Linked DNA regions of Homo sapiens: regions 1, 2 and 3 are each linked to region 4. Evidence: promoter capture Hi-C in human tissues and cell types (Jung and others, 2019). All regions are on one chromosome and are shown on one strand. Each heading gives the region's core, a stretch centred on a gene start or on the middle of the fragment in contact. The rest is flanking DNA. Distances are from core to core; before and after follow the strand shown.

Evidence for each region. Contacts are between HindIII fragments. The study calls those that stand out against the background at their distance.
Region 1: the fragment with the promoter of SMIM7 here is called in contact with a fragment that was not itself captured in region 4 in 1 of the 25 tissues and cell types used here (dorsolateral prefrontal cortex).
Region 2: a contact is called between the fragment with the promoter of CCDC124 here and a fragment that was not itself captured in region 4, in 1 of the 25 tissues and cell types used here (spleen).
Region 3: the fragment with the promoter of MED26 here is called in contact with a fragment that was not itself captured in region 4 in 1 of the 25 tissues and cell types used here (dorsolateral prefrontal cortex).

What each region holds. Positions count from the first base shown.
Region 1 is chr19:16,658,602-16,661,393 of GRCh38, forward strand. It overlaps SMIM7 (small integral membrane protein 7), which reads right to left and starts at 1,543. Exons shown (of 5, transcript NM_024104.4): 1 at 1,484-1,543; 2 at 1,358-1,399; 3 at 794-846. The coding sequence starts at 1,509. It overlaps TMEM38A (transmembrane protein 38A), which reads left to right and starts at 2,538. Exons shown (of 6, transcript NM_024074.4): 1 at 2,538-2,740. The coding sequence starts at 2,617. RefSeq lists silencers at 2,136-2,335, 2,356-2,605. The HindIII fragment of the contact is 23,986 bases long and covers 1-2,792 here.
Region 2 is chr19:17,931,571-17,934,270 of GRCh38, forward strand. CCDC124 (coiled-coil domain containing 124) reads left to right here and starts at 1,445. Exons shown (of 5, transcript NM_001136203.2): 1 at 1,445-1,478. RefSeq lists enhancers at 523-1,061, 1,208-1,267, 1,288-1,477 and a silencer at 1,558-1,607. The HindIII fragment of the contact is 29,527 bases long and covers 1-2,700 here.
Region 3 is chr19:16,626,856-16,629,773 of GRCh38, forward strand. It overlaps MED26 (mediator complex subunit 26), which reads right to left and starts at 1,349. Exons shown (of 3, transcript NM_004831.5): 1 at 1,017-1,349. The coding sequence starts at 1,088. It overlaps LOC105372296 (a long non-coding RNA gene), which reads left to right and starts at 1,577. Exons shown (of 2, transcript XR_936361.3): 1 at 1,577-2,393; 2 at 2,504-2,918. RefSeq lists silencers at 1,213-1,272, 1,373-1,632, 1,883-1,962 and enhancers at 1,477-2,408, 2,513-2,562. The HindIII fragment of the contact is 10,464 bases long and covers 1-2,918 here.
Region 4 is chr19:17,241,602-17,244,301 of GRCh38, forward strand. The region is part of intron 1 of NR2F6 (nuclear receptor subfamily 2 group F member 6); the gene reads right to left. Among named protein-coding and RNA genes, the nearest start is that of NR2F6, 3.0 kb to the right of the region's middle. The HindIII fragment of the contact is 5,712 bases long and covers 1-2,700 here.

The DNA of each region.
Region 1 (2,792 bases), core at 293-2,792, 580 kb before region 4:
TTTCAAGAAAAATCAGACATCTTAATTTTTATATAAAATCTCCTGATTAAAAATCTAATGTTGGCATCTAATTTTAAAAGTGGCAGGTCTGCAGCACTCTGAAAGCAACAGCTATGTGTGAGGTTGTTCATTCATTCATTCACAGGCATCGGAGGACGGGTACGGCAAGAACAAAGGATGGGACAAGCCAAGCTAGGGCCTCTTCTCTGAAGTTTACAGTCATATGTGAGGGGCAGACATTAGCCAGATGACAGCAAACATAACAGAACATTATAACGGTAGGAAGTGATGTGAGTGCTCACATCAGGGAGGTCTGGTAGGAGAAAGAAATAGATGACAGAGGTAGGCAGAAAGGCTAGCACATTCTCAGTCATCTCCCACTCACACACACGCTCAATTAAAGAGAAAACTTGTGGCTCACGCCTGTAATCCCAGCTCTTCGGGAGGCCAAGGCAGGGATCACTTGAACCCAGGAGTTCGAGACCGGCCTGGGCAACGTGGAGAAACCCCATCTCTACAAAAAATACAAAATTTAGCCTGGCATGGTGGCACACACCTGTAATCCCAGCTACTAAGGGGGCTGAGGTGGAAGGATCACTTTAGCTCAGGAGGTCGAGTCTGCAGTGAGCCATGATCGCACCACTGCACTCCAACCTGGACAACAGAGCAAGACCTTGTGTCAAAAAAAAAAAAAAAAAAAAAAGAGAAAGAAAGAAAACGAAGGTAGGGCTTGGCGAAACAGAACTGTCCTCTGAAGTGGACCATGCAATTCCAGGATCCAATTAGACCTTACCTGTGCTGGGCTCCCTGGACTCCTCCCCAAAGCCCTGCGTGTCCTTCTTTTTCCTACAAAGAGGAGCAGACAGTGTCCACTTTCAATGGGACATAGAGTCCTCAGCCCCCTGACCCCCAGCTCAGAAGGCCACAAACACTAAGTTTCAGCCCTGGCCCTGCCGCAAACTTGCTGTGTGACCTCTGACGTTCAATACCCTTCTCTGGGCCCCCACTGCCCGGACAATCACAGCCAGGTCAGCAGCCACCGACCGTTTACAAAGTGGCCCGACAGTGCGGGTGCAGGGCGGAAGGTCCGCGGTGGGGCTATTTCTTGGGGGATGGGGCTTAAGCTCTCCAGGAAGGTGAACAGAGGGACAACCAAGGAACGGAGAGTATGGGTTTAAGGTCTCTCGGGGGGTGGGGGGCGAGGAAGATAAACCAGGCTGGAGGCGTGCCCAGAGGGCGGATAGGGCGGGGCCTGCGGCTTGGGGGCGGGGCCTGAGAAGTGCGCCGAGATCACGCTTATGAGGGCGGGGCTACGGGTTCCCCGGATGGAGCCGCAGTCCGGCCGCGACCTACTCACAGCTTAAAGTTCAGCACCGCCCCGGCATTCATCAGCAACGTCCTGCAGAGGGAGAATTACAGTTACTAGGGGCGCCCCCGCGTCCTGCCTGGCTCTCTCTTCCCAGCCTCTGGTCCCCCTAATTACCCGAACAGCAGGATGTCTCCGATCATCGTTACGGCCGAAGCGTCCGTCAGAACCGGAAGCGGAAGCCCCAGGGAGGGAGGGGAGAGGAGCACAAGCCGACCAATCCTAAAGCAACAGTGGCGAGGGCTGGGCCAATCGAAGGTCAAGGCTGGGAGGGTCCCGCCCTCTGCAGGCCAGACCCCCTTAGGGGAGCGCGAGCGCCCCACCTCGCTGGGGAGGCCCCGAGAGCCAGAATGGGAGGAGCGGGGTCTCCTGGGGGCGGGATTGGGTCACGCGTTCGAAGCGTGCCGCGCATGCGTGAGGTCTCGATGCCGTAGGGTTAGCTGGGCAGCAATTCCTACTCACTTTCTGGGGTCCCAAATTGGGCTTCTGGACAAAAGGAATCCTTTGACTCCTGAGCTGCACAGGGTGCGGGGTCCTGACGCAGTGGGGTCCCTAGAAACGGGTGCCCCAACCAACTGGGCTCTAAAATGAGATCCTCCTGGGCCCCATGGGGAACGGGGGTTCCCACTGAGCTGCCCCCCACAAGACGTCCTGATTTGCAGAGCCCCACCGGAGACGGGGTTCCTGATCGAACGGACCCTATGGGGCAGAAAAGTCTTGACGGGGCTCCACAGAGGACCGAGGTCCTAACCTATCTCCACGGGGAACAGGGGTTCTGATTCATGGGGTCCCACCATGGCGTAGGGGTCCTCACTGGGCTCCACCGAAGATCGGGGTCCTAATTGAGCCCACGGGGACAAAGTCCTGGCCGATCCGGCCCCCTGGGAACGGGCGTCCCGCGTGGGTGGGCTCCGTGAGGGACGGGCCCCCAGAACAGGCAGCTCCCCAGCCTCCCTCGCCTTGCACGGGTGCCCCGCACCCCGCCTCGCTGGGCGGAACGGGGTAGCGATGGCAGGAGGGTCAACGCCTGGGACGCCCGACCGTCCAGCTGCGTCCGTGGTGCTGGGCGTCCCCACCACCTGTCCCGGGGTGGGCCGTCGCCCCTCCTCTCCCGCGGGGGCCGGGCCTGGGGTGGCGCCTGGCGGGCGGGGGCGGGCCCAGCTGCGGGGGCGCAGTCGCCGGGCCGCGGGCGGCGGGACGGACGAGGCCGGGGCCCCGGGTGGCACCCGGCAGGCGGGCAGGCGGGCGCCATGGAGCTGCTCTCGGCGCTGAGCCTGGGCGAACTGGCGCTCAGCTTCTCGCGGGTGCCGCTCTTCCCCGTCTTCGACCTCAGTTACTTCATCGTCTCCATCCTCTACCTCAAGTATGAGCCAGGTGAGCCGGGGCGGGGGGCTGGAGGGGACCGGCAGCGGGTGGCGCGGGCCGG
Region 2 (2,700 bases), core at 195-2,694, 690 kb after region 4:
CTGCACCCTCCAACTTCTGGGCTCAAGTGATTCTCTTGAATGGGAGGATGAGCATGCCACCACGCCCAGCTAATGTTTTTATCTTCTGTCGAGATGGGGTCTCATAATGTTGCCCAGGCTGCTTTCAAACACCTGGCCTCAAGCGATCCTCCCACCTTAGCCTTCCAAAGGGTTGGGATCACAGGCATGTGCCACTGCGACCAGCCAGGATAATAATCTTTCATGTGATTTTCCGACTTTAAGCCCCCTGCACCCAGAGACCTTTCTGTCTCATGCCTGAAGGGAAGGAACTGGCCACGGAAAAACCTGGGAAATTCCTGGGGGAACTCCCTGAGGCAAGACTGCGCCTGGCAATTTGTAAGAAGGGGGCTGGTGCGACCTGAGCAGAGAGCTAATGGGAGGGTGAGGGAAGCCAAGGGAGATGGGGTGGGAGGTGGGAGGAGTCTTGCGGGACAATGGGAACCCAGGGGAGGCGTTAGAGCAGGGGAGGTGCATCGCGCACTGGGATTTAGGTCCCAGCAAGGTCGCTGGGGGGATGCCTTTTAGGGAATGGACTCTGTGGTCAACTACTCCTACCTGAACTGCCCCCAAAGCATTTGCTTTTCCCTCTCCACAGTCAGGACCAGTGTAACCTTAGACCCCTAATACTGCCATTTTTACTGTTGAGAACACCGAGAAGTAGTAAATGCAGAAAATCTAAAGTATAGTGCCTAAGACAAATTGGCGCCTCAAACCTAATTTCTAAATAAAATTAATAAATAATATTGCAGAAGTGGGGAGCAGGTCAGCAATCCAGGAAGAGGCACTGGCAGGAGCAAGAGACGGAATTTGAGCCTACTCGCGGTTATGAGCCTACTCGCGGTTACATTTTGGCCAAACTCAATTCCTGGTCTCTCTGAGCCTCGGTTTCCCTACCTGGACTGCGCGGTGTGTGTTAATTTCTCTGCCCCATTTATCTCCCCTCTCCTAGCCCCGCCCCAGCGTCACCAGTGGGACGCAGAGACTCAGGACTAGGAAAGCACTTTTAAAGCGTTAAGGGATTGCGAAGAGCTACGGAGAGGCTTCCTCAGGGCTATACTGGGTCCACCTCCCCTCATGGACCGCGGGCGCGCTCTGGCGGCCGGGCCGCTCCAGGCTGAAGCCGCCGGACCACGTGTGTAGTCGCAGCTGCCATCTTTCATCCGGGCATCGGCCATCTTGGTAAAGGCAATGTTCTAGATTTTCGCCTCTGCCCGCCCCTCCTGGTTCATCAACATATTAAATGAGCGTAGGGAATGAGGGCGTATTAAGTGTCCTCTTTTTGAAGAGACAAAGAAGTGGCTGACTACCCTGGCTTGGGTCCGAGGCCCAGCCATCTTTTTCTTTACCAAAATGGCGGCGGTACTGAGGCGCAATGAGTGCGCGCCGCCAGGAGCTCAGCGCGCAGGCCCCATGATGACGTCACGGAGGCGCGACCGGGCCGGCGCTGGGGTAAGAAGGTAGGAGCGTCTGCGGCGCGGGCGGAACCCGGGTTCGGGGAGCAGAGGCGCGGGGCGGGGGCTGCTTGGCCTGGGACCATCCCCTGGGAAGGCTGGAGGAGGGGTGCTGGGAGGCAGGAGCACTTCTGGCGTCCAGTCTGAACCGCACCTAGTTGGGGGCGATGCCCATTTCCAGACTAGACGATTGAAGCCCGACGCGACAGCATGTTCGAGGCCACCTGGCCCCGGACTGCCCCTAGGCAGCTTCTGGTCTCGAGAGGGACAGAGTTGGGCGCGGACTCCCCCGGCCTCTTGTAGGGGGATTAGTGGTGGGGGACTTCAAAAGGGATAGCCGGGAGGGCTGCTTAGAGGAGGCATTGTTGAATTTTGTATTCTGTTATTTTACCTTCACATCCGTGGGGTCTTAATCCCCATGGGTCTTGATTCGCTTCTAAGTGTGCCCCTCGCCCAGCCTGAGCCACTCCCTGGGTACCGCCTGGGCTCCCAGCTCCTGCCATCTGGGGAGTCCACCTCCTCACTAACCCCAGAGGGCTTGTGTGACCCATAGATTGGGCTTCCCGGCTCTAACGCCCTCCACACCTTCCCATCTCCCTGGAATACAAATCGCCCCCTTTTCCAGCCTACCTCCTGCATCCCGCGTGCAGGCTGCGCTCTCCCCCACTCATTCAGACTTTTCCTTAGATGTCTCCTTTAGGAAGCCCTTTGACCCAGGCTGGGTCAGAAGCCCTCTCCGGGCTTCCCCGGCGCCCTGCGTGTCCTTATTAGGACTCTGATTGCATGTGTTGGCTCTTCTCTGGGAGTCCCATGCAGGCAGAAAGCTCATTTGTGCCACCTCTTTCCCCAGCATCGCACACGTATTAGGTGCCCAGTACATATTTATTGAATGACGTGTGCAAGTGAGTGAGTGTTTACTACACAGAGAAAAGTGTCTGTATTTCCAGCTTGGGCTGTCATAACTAATACCACAGACTGGGTGGCTTAAACAGCAGAAATTGCCAGGCACTGTGGCTCACACCTGTAATCCAGGCACTTTGAGAGGCCGAGGCAAGCGGATCACTTGAGGTCAAGAGTTTGAGACCAGCCTGGCCAACATAGTGAAACCCCGTCTCTACTAAAAATACAAAAATCAGATAGGCATGGTGGCACATGCCAACATGGTGAAACCCCATCTCTATAAAAATACAAAAATTAGCCGGGCGTGGTGGCAGGTGCCTGTAATCCT
Region 3 (2,918 bases), core at 99-2,598, 610 kb before region 4:
AAGAATGACCCCTACTGCCAAGAAACTCTTGGAGAAAATATGAGAATAGATCAGTCTTCCCCCCCACCCCCCCACCCCCGCAACAACACACACACACACACGGAAGGGGAGGGGGCGGTCCCTCCGCAAACAGTAGCCTCAGCAAAGGGGCACCCGAGGAAGCGACACTCTGGAGTTAACCCCGACAGTCTGGGTCAAAAACCACCAGGCTGAGACCCCCAGGTGAGGGAAAGAGCCTACTGAAACAGAGCTCTTGGGTAAACGGGAGAGAAAAGTCCTCTTTAATTCACTACCTAAAAAATGGAGCTCTGGCTTGGTCAGAGACGCAATGGGTACTGAGGCCCAGAAAGGCAACAGGAAGGATCCCACCCTCCCCGAGATCATCTATCGTCGGCAGCGACCCCAAGAGGGTTTTGGCAAAGGCGTGTCTAGTCACAGAAGGGAGACAGACTCTCCACGTACCCTAGGTACCCGGCCAGGGGCAAAACAGACTGGGGGTTCTCTCCGAAGCCAGGAAGGTGCTGCCAGCCGAGAGGAGGGGGAAGAAGGACTTCCCTGATCACCCAGGAGGCCAAGACATGGGAGACATAGGTTCCCCGAGTCATACCCCGGACACCAGTTGCTTCACAGCCCTTCTCCCTCCCCTTCCCGCTCCGGGAGGGCTTCCCGGGGGTCTCGGGTCCCGGAGGGAGGGCGAGGCAGAGAAGCTTCGTCCAGAGCAGTGAGGGTCGTAGAGCTGGAGCAGAAAGGGAGGAAAAACTCTAGCCTCAGCTCCCCCGTCTGCTTCCTCCGCCCAGGCCGCACGGAAGCCTCGGCCTCACGTACCGAGCGCTGCCGGGCTGCCCGACCTGCCCCCGGCCCGGGCCCGAGAAGCGAGAGGCAGGGATGGCAGCGGCCCTCGAGGGGAGGTGGGCGCCAGACGGGTCCCCCGAAGCCCGGTGGGCGAGGGGTACAGGAGAGGGGGAGGGTCCCGGGCCCATGCGGCCTCCGTCCCAGCTCGCGCGGCGGGTACTTACGTTGCTCTGGGGGTCGATGGCCTGCAGCAGCCGGTCCCTGATCTGCTGCGGAGACGCCGGAGCCGCTGTCATTGCCTGGGCGAGGCGGGGGGTTGCGGCCGGGCCAGCGGGCGGGCGGGCTGAGGCGGGGGACGGGGGTCACTCACTCGCCGGCCTCCGGGAGCCGGAGCCGCATGTTCCCCGCGGCGCCGGGGGGTTGGGGGCGCGCGGGGTGGCGGAGAGGGGAGCCGGGGCCGGGTCTCGGTCCCGGGCCGCCGCCGCCACCAAAGGAGGAGGAGGAGCCGCCGGAGCCGCCGCCGCTCGCTGCCGCCGCCTCGAGAACCAAACTCCAGTGAGCTGCCCCCGCGCGGAGTACTCTGGGTAGTCCGCGCCGCACGCAGCGTCGGCGCCACGCTGAGGAGGTTGGGAGATGGGGCGGGCGGAGACGCCAGGCCTGGGCGGGGCTGCCCGTGTGCCACGCCCCGCGCCTCCGCGCAAGCGCGCGCAGGCGCACTCGTCCGCCCGTGACGCCCCGCCCAGCCGCCCGGCCTAGGCAGCCGTTGGGAGGAGGTTGGGCGGGGCAACGGCCCCCGTCCAGGTCACGGGGCGGGGCTTTCTGACGGAAGCGCGCGCGCAAAGAGTCCTTGAACCCGGACGCTCGCAGCGGCTACCTCGGGGCGGGGAGGGCGGCGGGAAAATCCTTCCTCTGGGAGAGCCTTCCCGGCGCGTGACTGGGGGACGGGAGTCGCAGGCTGAGCAGCTGCCGAGTTTTTTGTGAGGGCGAGGGAACCAGACGTCCACGTTGTGATTCTGCGCGCAGAAGGGTCATCGGAGTCCGGGGGTGTCGCCGCGGCCCCCCCGCCCCTCAGAGGGTGTGGGAATGGGTGTGGTGGCAGGGCGGGGGTCTGCACCGCCACGCGCGACCCCGATCGCGAAAACGTGAGGCGGCAAAGCGCCTCTGGCAGAAGCCGCCCGCCGTAGCTGGGAAAGCCGGAGGTTGCAAATCTGCGTCTACGCGGCGGCTTCTCCACCTCGGCACCACTGGCATTTGGGCGGGATCGCTCTGTCTTCGGGGCGGGTCCCCCGATCTGTCGGAAGTTGAGCGGCATCTCTGGCCTCCGAAGCGCCCCCTCCCCCAATCTGCAGTCATTGCCGCCGTCCCTTGTGGGGGCACAGTCCCCCCGCCCCCCCACCGGCAGAGAACCCCGTGATTGAAAGACCCTTCTACCCGCCTCTGCCTTGAGATTCTGTAAAACTGAGATGCTCATTCTCTTAACCAAACACGTCACAGAGGAGGAAACGGAGGCCCAAGGTCACCTAGACTTCGGGGTTAAGCCCAGAACCGCAGATGTCAAGTTTAAGGGCGCCCCTCCTCCCTCCACCCTGTTTATTGCCTTGGTAATTGCTCCCCTCTCTCTGGGAGCTCTGTTGGAAATGCTCTTGTGAGACGGGATGGAAAGGCAAGCTCGGCGGCCTCGGGAGAAATCTTTTTTTTCCCACTGTTACAGGAAGACCTAGATTTAAAACAGGAGGAAGACAGCTGATGAGAACCACATGTGTGCCTTGGAGCTGCCCGACACCTGTTAGTCTTGTATTTGTTGTGCTTCTGGGAAATATTTTCATTTGCAAAAACGGCTGCTTCTGCACGTGGCTATGGTTGCGTGCTTCTGCACATGTGAAAAGTTTTACATCACACTTGGAGGAGAAAAGAAACACGGGCAAAACACTTGTCATTTACTGCTCCCAACCTCGCCCCTCCCAGAATGCGGTGCATTGTGTACATGGTGTACATGGTCCAAGTTGGAAACTGGCCCATTCGGAGATAATTCTCTCATTTCTGATAAGCAAAATAAGCAAAGCCTTCCTCAGGCATATTCTGGTCTTGCCTCTCTCTTAATTTCTAACTCGGATGTACAGTATCTT
Region 4 (2,700 bases), core at 78-2,577:
CTCTTGCCACCAGGAGCTGGGGGCTCTCCAAGGCCTGGGCCTGGAGCAACTACCCCTGGGGTTCCAGCTGGACACCCAGGGGACACACAGAGACAGTCACAGAGTAGAACCACCACTTAAGGGAATTAAACAGATGCATCTCTGCAGTGGCTCACGCCTGTAATCCCAGCACTTTGGGAGGCGGGGGAGGGTGGATCACCTGAGGTCAGTTCAAGACCAGCCTGGCCAACATGGTGAAACCCCGTCTCTACTAAAAATACAAAAATGAGCTGGGCGTGGTGGCGCATGCCTGTAATCCCAGCTACTTGGCAGGCTGAGGAAGGAGAATCGCTTGAACTGGGGAGGTGGAGGTTGCAGTGAGCCAAGATTGACCCACTGCATTCCAGCCAGGGTGACAGAGTGAGACTCTGTCTCAAAAAAAAAGAAAAAAAAAAAGGCTGGGTGCAGTGGCTCATGCCTGTAATCCCAGCACTTTGGGAGGCCGAGGCGGGCGGATCACCTGAGGTTGGGAGTTTGAGACCAGCCTGAACAACATAGAGAAAACCTGTCTCTACTAAAAATACAAAATTAGCCGGGCATGGTGGCGCATGCCTGTAATCCCAGCTATTTGGGAGGCTGAGGCAGGAGAACCGCTTGAACCCGGGAGGCAGAGGTTGCAGTGAGTTGAGATCACGCCATCGCACTCCAGCCTGGGCAACAAGAGTGAAACTCCGTCTCAAAAACAAAACAAAACAAAACAAAACAGATGAATCTCAGCTGCAGATACCCAGCCCTGCCCCTCAGGTGGCGACTGCCCCACTGAGCCTCGGTTTCCTCATCTGAAAATGGGAGGTCAGATATTGCCCTATCATATGGGATGGACTGGGTCAGAGGGGTTCACGGGGGACAGTGCCAAGACCCAGAGCCCAGCCGGAGAACCCAACTTAGGAAAGCTGAGGATCTGCGCCCACTCCCCCGTACCCCCCCTCCACCACTGCCTGGGTCCTGCAGCACCAGCCACTGAGCCCCTGGGAAGAGGCCCCACTAGGGCAGAGGGAGCTCAGGCAGAACCAGAACAAAGCCCAGCGGCTGGGTGGTGGGAGGGTCCAGGGCAGCCGGGTGGAAACGGCCTGGCCTGGGGCGGCCCTGCAGGCAGGCAGAGGCCCAGCTCAGGGGCCCCTGACCTCAGGGGAGGCCCTGAACCTTCAGTCTCAACTTCCCCAGCTGTGGAATTGGGACAGATCCATCCCTCCAAGGAGGGAAACAGTTAAGTTCTTCCTGTTATCCCACCTAAAGAGTGCAAGCTTTTTTGCCCAACCCCATGGCCCAACTCAGCTTCCTCCCTGGGCTTCTGGCCTCCAGTCCAATTTGATCAGAGCCCTCTCCTGCTCACACACCCTCTATGGCTCCCCATTACCCTCAGCCAGCATTTCAGGCCCACCTAGCTCTGACTTCTCCCATGGCTGCACAGTCCCCCTCTTACAGCACAGCTCCCCCAGTCTGCCACTAAGTGTTTTGTCTGGACCACATTCTGGCATGTCCCTGTGGCCTTTCTTCCACCTGCCAACTCCATGCTTCAAGGCTCATGTCCCCTAGCCTCCTCCAGGCAGCCCTCTCTGACCTCCAGGCAGAGCCTCTGCTCTCTCCCTGGGACCCCAGATCCCACAGACTTGGGGCATCTGTCTCACTGTGTCTCCTCCAGACTGGGGGCTTCTCAGGAGCTAGACTTGGAGCTGGGGTCTCTCTGGAGGGGCTGGCATCAAACTACCCAGGCTGGGCCCCAGCGAGACCCTGCTCAATCCATTTGAAGCTCAGAATGGAATGGTGATTTCACCAGGTCACACAACTGACACAGCACAAACCTGTCAGCTCCAAGCAAGGCCCCCCCCACCCAAAATTGCTGCTCCCTGACACCACCCTCAGGAAGCTCCTGGGACCCCAAAACTGCCTGAGCCCCCCTCCCTTACCCTCCCTAAAGATATGACCAGAGAGCAGGCGGTTTTCCAGCAGCAAGAATGAGGCCAAAGTCTAGTGGCCCACTTTGTGCTGGAGGAGGGAGCAAGGCAGCTCTGCCACACATGGCCACACCAGGCCAGCCCTGACCCGGGACCTGGGGCCAAACTCCACCCTCGGGTACCTGGGGCCCTATTTGGTGGCCTCAGCCAACAAGCCTTCCATCAGCCGTTCTCCCTGGGGCCACTCCGATCCGAACTCAGCGGTCCCCACCCTAGCCCCACAGTTCCCCCACAGTGCCCCCAACTCGGGCAGCGTCCCTCCATGTCCAACGCAAAGCAGGCACCAGGACCTCTCTCTGGGCCTTTGGGCCTCTGTTTTGGGCAGCTGGGAACTGAGACCGTCTAGACGGGCTCCACAGAGACCCTGCATGTTCCTGGGGTGCAGAGTAGGGGCTTATAAACGGACAGATCGGATGCTCGCCCGGGAACGGTGAGAAAAGAACTCCCGGGCTGGACAACCCCGATCGCTTTCCCTGGGGACCTTCCGCCAGAACAGCTAGCAAGGCCACGCCCTGCCAGAGAGGTCTCCGACCTGGGACAGCCCAAGGCTCCTGCTCGGAAACGTTTCACTCCCTGCCCGTCTCAGAGACACCCAAAGTTTGAGGGATTTTTCCAGGAGCCCCAGGTCTGCACCCACCCCTGGGGGAGAGGGACGTTTCAGTCAATTCCGGTGGCCCTGCCGGCCTTCCAGTGGCGATTTCCGGTG